2 separate regions of the Homo sapiens genome follow, and region 2 is linked to region 1. Evidence: promoter capture Hi-C in human tissues and cell types (Jung and others, 2019). All regions are on one chromosome and are shown on one strand. The core of a region is centred on a gene start or on the middle of the fragment in contact, and the rest is flanking DNA. Distances in the headings are between cores, read along the strand shown.

Region 1 (3,003 bases), core at 206-2,705:
GAACAGAATGATTACAAATGCTAAAGCGCAGAAGACGATTAAAGGAGGTTATTTATGTACCATCAAATGCTTGTGTATCCTGTACACATCAGTTTAGAATTCTCTCATCAACCCAACCTTGTGGCAACTTCCAAACCCCTCCATCATGGCCTTCTAACTTTTCAAACTTTTTTTTTTGTAAGCCACTTCTCTTTCCAGACCTCTCTGTAGTGGTTCCTAACGTCTTCCCTTTAAACCTTCTAACTTGTGTTTGCTATTTTTATGACTTCCTCCTCCCAGTGCCTGGCTTCCCCAGCTGGGGATTCACCTTGCTTTGGTGGCCACTGTTTTGCTCTTCTCGCCTTCCCTCTCTCCATGGGCCTGCCAGGCTTAGGGAAGGCCGCAGGTGCTTAGACCTTGTCCAATGCGGTGCTCATTGAACACGCCGGGTTCTCAAACAAATGTTAGGGACAGCTGGTTAGACGGGAATCTGGGCCTCCCCTGCTTGCTTTCCGCAACATTTCTTGAGCATTGCTGGGTGTCCAAGGCAGGGCGAGATCCCAGAGCAGTCACGACCGGATGTATGATTGGTGCTCACTGCACAGTGCTGGGGACGCACAGGGAGGATGCCACTGATGGTGTAGGGGGTGGGGACTTGGCAGAGGGAGCAGCATGTGTCGAGGTCTACTGGTTCTCCAAGTTTGGTCCCAGAGCAAAGGCATCAGCATCACCTGGGAACCTGCTGAAAATTCTAATGCTTAGGCCTCACTACCGACCTACCAAAGCAGACACTCTGGGGGAGGGAGGAGGGGCACTAAAAATCTGTTTTATCAAGACCTCCAAGAGACTCCAACACACGCTAGAGTAGTTTGAGAACCACGACTCTGGGAGCGGCCTGAGGATGCTTAGGATGAGCGCAGAGCGGAAAGGAGGATTCGTGAAGGCTCTCTGATGCCAGTCAAGGGGTTAGACTTTGCCCCGCAGGTGCGGCCTCCAGGTTTTTAAGCAGACGCCTGTGGCTCTCACACGCCCTCTCCCAAGGCGGCGTCTCTGGGAGCCCTGGCGTTCCCTGGGCCCCCGGGACCGAGAGCTTACCCGCGTGGGACTGAACTCGCCCACGACCCCCGACACCAGGCAAGAGAGGTTGTGCCGCAGACCCTCCACTCCCCAGCACCAGGCGCTCGCCGTCCAGGTGGAGGGGAGCACACGTGGGAGCCAGGGGCACCGGCGGAGACACGAGCGCAGAAGGCACGCGCTCAAGCCCACGCCCGCGACTGCCGGGACTGAAGGTGTTGCGAGCCCCGGCTCCACCCCTAGCCTGCGGTGCGCCGTGCTTTGGCCCCGCAGGCCCCGCCCCCGGCCCCGCCCCGGCGCGCGCCCGGCCCGCCTCCCTAGGCGTGGAGGAGGGGGGGCGGCTCAGCCCCGCGCCCGTGCGCGCGCTCGCGGCCGGGTTGCAGGGCTGGGCGCGCGCCCCGCGTCCCGGGCAGGAAGATGGTGGCGAGCGCGCGAGTGCAGAAGCTGGTGCGGCGCTACAAGCTGGCGATTGCCACGGCGCTGGCCATCCTGCTGCTGCAGGGCCTGGTAGTGTGGAGCTTCAGCGGCCTGGAGGAGGACGAGGCGGGCGAGGTGCTCCGACGGCCGGGCGGGCGGGCAGGCCGGGCGCGGGGGCGCGCGGGGTCCTGGCGGGGCTGCGGGCGGCCCCAGCCGGGGAAGTGGGGCACGGGCCGCGTGCGTGCGTGCGGGGCGCCGGCGGTCGCCCAGAGCGGAGCATCCGGCCCCCGGCACTCCCTTCCCCAGCAGGCCTAGGGAGCTGCGCGCGGGGGCAGTGCGTGACCTGGAGACCCGGGCCCTGGTGGATTGGGAGTCGGGCGGGGGGAGCAGGTCATGCTAGGGTGGTCTCCGGCCAAGGGAGCGATGAAGGTCAGGCGCGGCGAGCGGGGCTGGGAGGCGGGGCTGGGCCCGAACCTGCTCGGAGGTGGGGAGCCCCAGGCCAAACTTTCTGAAGTTGGGAGGGGGCGGGGATATGCGCGCCGTGGGCGGAGGAGTAGGGCCAAGGGACTCAGGGCGTCCTTCCCCAGCTGAGCCCGAGGGGCAGCGGCCGGTGAGGAAGGGGAGCTCGGGGGTGGAATTCAGGCCTGGGACAAAGTGTGTACCCGGGAACTGAAGGAACAGGGAGTGACGCCGAAGGAGAGAACTGGAGTATTCCCGAGGTGTGGCTTCCTCAGCCGGGGGTTTGAAGAACCTGGATGGGTCTCCGGAGGGCAGGGAGAGGAGGAACTGAGCTGGTGAGTTGGCCTCAGGACCTTAGGGAATTAGGGAGGGGCCCTCTGGCTTTAAGGGAATGGGGACTGTAACAGAGCCCCAGCCGCAGAGCAGGGGCAACCAACAGCCGTCTCAGCCCCCAAGTCCCTGCCTCGAGGGTCTTTCTCCCTCTTCCCCGATGTGGTTTCAGCGGGAGGCTCAGACACCTCAGCGGTGTGGTGAGGAAGGGTCCATTGGGTCTGGGTTCGTGCTGCGGAGATGGAGAGGACAGGCCACACCACAGCCCTAAGCTGTGGCCCAGAGGTCAGGACCTCCCTGCCCCCAGCGCCCCTGTTCTGCTGCCTCCAGGGCTCCGGGTCAGAGACTCTATCTGCTGCTGTCCTCCGGCAAGCCCCGATACCCGCGACCCCTTACCGCATCTCGCCAGTCTGGAAGGCCTGGTGTGGAGACAGAAGAGCTGCCCTTGCCTTTTTTTGGGAGAACCCAGAGGGTGGGATGGTGATGGGGGCTGGAACAGAGTCACATGAGACCATAACTCCAAAAGGAGGTGGGGGCGGGGGTGGGGCTGGCTCCGTGACATCCGTGGGGTGTAGACCTACAAGTAGGACAAGCAAGTAGGAGAGTGTTTCAGGCCCAGTGTAAGAAGACTGTTTGGGCAGATGGGACATTCCAAGATGGAATGGGCTGCCAAAGCAGTTAGGGAGCCCTCTGACCCTGGAATATGTGACCACTCTGGGCTACCGCCCCCATCCCCCACCACCT
Region 2 (3,209 bases), core at 678-3,177, 220 kb before region 1:
CCCTCTGGGCTGGATTGGGGTTTCCTGCTCAAAGCCATTCTCGGTCCATCCTGATTCAGCACAAACTGCTCTCTTTTCTTCCCTTCAACAACTAACTTTCTGGGGTGTGTAGGGGGACCCTCCCTACATTGTGTCCAGGGGGTCACCAGACCCCTCCCACCCAACCCTCTCCTTCCAAAACTGAGCCTAGAAAAATTAGACACCAAACCCGCCCCCACTCTCACTCCCACACACACCCCGCACACTCTCTCACACACACACACACACACACACACACACACCCCCATTCAGCCAGGTAACTGCACAAGGGTGGGATTGAACCGGTTCCTCTGGATACCCTTCCCCCCAAGGCTTCCAATCCTGGAGAAGGAGCACCAATGACCTTTGACCCTTCTCTGGGAGAAAGGGAGGCAGGTGAGCTCACAGCCTCTTGGGACCCAGGAGAAGGAGAAAGGAAGAAAGGGCGCACAATTCCTGGGGAGGGAGCGGGAGCGGGAGCGGAAGGAAGTGAGGAGTAGGAAGAAGCAGAGACAGACACACAAACTGGCGGAGAGTCCACAGGGCTGCTGAGAAGAAAGAGATCACACCGAGAGTGGGGCCACGGGAACTGGCACTGGGAACAAGGGCTTCCGCCGCTCTAAGTGACGCCCGAGGGTGGGAGAGAAGGGAGAAGCCCTTCGGGCAGGCGATAGGAAAGGGCCCCTGAAGAGGAGAAAGCGACAGAGAGAAGTGCAACTGGGAGAGGCCGGGAAGAGGTGGATGGGAAAGGAGACTAGCGGTCGGGGAGGCAGTTGTGGAGCCAGAGAGGTGGTCCCCCCTTCCCATATCGCCGGCCGTCCACTGGCCCCAGGCTTGGGGTAGTCCTCAGGAGTCGGGCACCCCCTCAAAGCACTGTTGGAGATGGGGTGAGGTTGGGGACAGGGCACCTACTCCACTCTCAGAGCCCTTCTCCCCAGTCAGAGCCCGGTGGCTAGTTTCTCTCCAAACCATCAGCACAACTCCCCGCCGGGCAAGAAAGAGTTAAGCCCTCTCCCCCTCCCCCCACACCAGCTTTTTATTAATTTCTCCGGGCGTCGGGCGGGAGGGAGGGGATTAGGGCCATAAATCCTATCTCCGCCCCCTCCCCTGACAGCCCGGCACCCCAGCCCCGTGCGGTCCCCCTAGGGATAGGGGAAGAAAGGCCCTTGTCGCTTAGCCCTGCCCAACCCCACTCAGGGTCCCACCGCGGGCCCGAGTGGCCCTAGCCCCAGTTCCCGGTCCACCCCAGGGCGCCCGGCCCCTCACCTCCGGCATCGGTCATCTTCAGCGTCTGGCGCCCCGGGAACCCCTCAGGCCCATGGTGCTCGAGGCGGGGGCCGGGCAGGAGAGGGGTGGGGGGACCGTCACCCCGGCCGCGGGGGGCTCCGGGCGGGCTCGAGCCGCTCCATCCCGGGGGTGGGGGTGAGGTCGGCGGGAAGGGTCCCAGAGCCGGGGGAGATGGAGGGCGGGGGATGTGGGGAGAGGGAACAGGTTCGCTGGAAGCAGGAGGCGCGGGCGGGGCTGGACCAGGAGACCTGACGGGAGGATGCTCCGTGTGTGTGTGCGTGTGCGTGTGCGTGTGTGTGTGTGTGACAGAGAGAGAGAGAGAGAGAAGAGCGAAGAGCGAGCGCCACCTCCCTCCCCGCCCCTGCCGCCCGCCAGGCCTGGCCGGACGCGGGGCCCCCGCCTGGCAGGGCCGATTCGCGCGGCGTCGCGTCGGCAGGGGTCCGCGGGGGTCTCCGGGGAAGGGGCGTCGGGGTGGGGGGCGCGTGGCGGAGAAGCCGGGCGCCCAGGAGACAAAGAGCGGGAGGGAGCGAGGGGGCGGGGGCGGGGGAGGGCGGCGGGGAGGAGGCGGCTGGGGCCGGGGAGCGGAGTTGCAGCTACTTCTCTGCCCGCGGGAGACGCGGCGCACCGGAGTCTGCGCGGGTGGGAGCGGCTCCGGGGCGGTCCCGCCACGGGACCCACGGGGCTTCCGCCTCCTCTGCCGGGTCCATCAGGGCTCCCGATTAGTTCATTCATTCAACAAACGTCCGCCGAGCAGCCGGGGCGCCGAGGCTGGAGGGGACAGCGGTGAACAGAACCCCCGCCCCCTAACTGCGCTCAAGGCCAGTGGGCCAGTCGGGGGCTCAGACGAGTGGGGAGGCCCTCACGAGCCTGGGCGCCATGGGCCCAGCTAACAGAGGGCACTTCTTGCCGGAAGGGAGAGCGCACCCCTGGCCCGGCCTGGGTCCAGGCGGCCGCGGCGGGAGCTGGGCTGGGGGATTCCCAGAGGATGTGATGTGTTGGCTACAACTGCGGGCCAGGGTAGGGAAGTGCCAGGGGGTGTTGGGGGTGGGAGGGCAAGAGGGGAAGATAAATTGAAGCTGGGGAGGTGCAGGGGGCTTGCACTTTATTCTACCAGCCGCCCACCCCGCCGCCCACACACACACACACACACACACACACACGCGCGCGCGCGCACACACACAAAATTAAGAGGAGGGAGGGGCTCAGGTGTGCATTTAGGAAGCACCCTTGGCTCCCCTGGAGACAGGGTTACAGAGGGCACTCTGAAGGCAGGGAGACCCGCTGGAGGCTATTGAGGGCCGGTGGCAGTGGGCATAAAGATTACAGATTAAGCTGAGAGCCCTTCAGGATGCAGGCCTGAAGAAGCTGACACCGAAGAAGCTGACAGGATTTGGGGACCTGCTGGACTAGGAGGTGAGGGAGGAGGGGTCTAGGATGGCTGTGGACCTTGGCTTGAGGCAGGAAGCCCTGGAGCAGGTGGGGGTGGGGACGGATGAGATCAGACTTGGACCCAGTGCGCTGATGGTAGTGGCAGGCCAGCCAGGGAGGCAATGTAGGGATCCACAACCAGCTACCGCACGTCACAGCTTGGCAGGTGCCAGGCGCTCTCAGATCATCTATTGTCACCCTCACAATAAACCCACAAGGTGGGTGTTTCCATTACCCACTGCCTCAGAGAAAACAGAGACTTAGAAGAAGGAAAGTGCTTTGCTCAAGAGCAAGTGGTGAAAGGCCAGGCGCAGTGGCTCACGACTGTAATCCCAGCACTTTGGGAGGCCAAGGTGGGTGGATTACATGAGGTCAGGAGTTCGAGACCAGCCTGGCCAACATGGTGAAACCCTTGTCTCTACTAAAAATACAAAAATTAGTCAGGCATGGTGGCGCTACTCTGGAGGCTGAGGCAT

Evidence for each region. The method cuts DNA at HindIII sites, captures the fragments that hold promoters and counts their contacts. A contact is called where the count stands out against the background at its distance.
Region 2: a contact is called between the fragment with the promoter of SAMD14 here and the fragment with the promoter of XYLT2 in region 1, in 2 of the 25 tissues and cell types used here (H1 embryonic stem cells and mesenchymal stem cells).

What each region holds. Positions count from the first base shown.
Region 1 is chr17:50,344,671-50,347,673 of GRCh38, forward strand. It overlaps XYLT2 (xylosyltransferase 2), which reads left to right and starts at 1,456. Exons shown (of 11, transcript NM_022167.4): 1 at 1,456-1,605. The coding sequence starts at 1,471. RefSeq lists silencers at 1,243-1,442, 1,503-1,602, 1,673-1,762, 2,578-2,872. The HindIII fragment of the contact is 7,409 bases long and covers 1-3,003 here.
Region 2 is chr17:50,128,233-50,131,441 of GRCh38, forward strand. It overlaps SAMD14 (sterile alpha motif domain containing 14), which reads right to left and starts at 1,928. Exons shown (of 10, transcript NM_001257359.2): 1 at 1,285-1,928. RefSeq lists silencers at 1,644-1,703, 1,944-2,023. The HindIII fragment of the contact is 12,261 bases long and covers 1-3,209 here.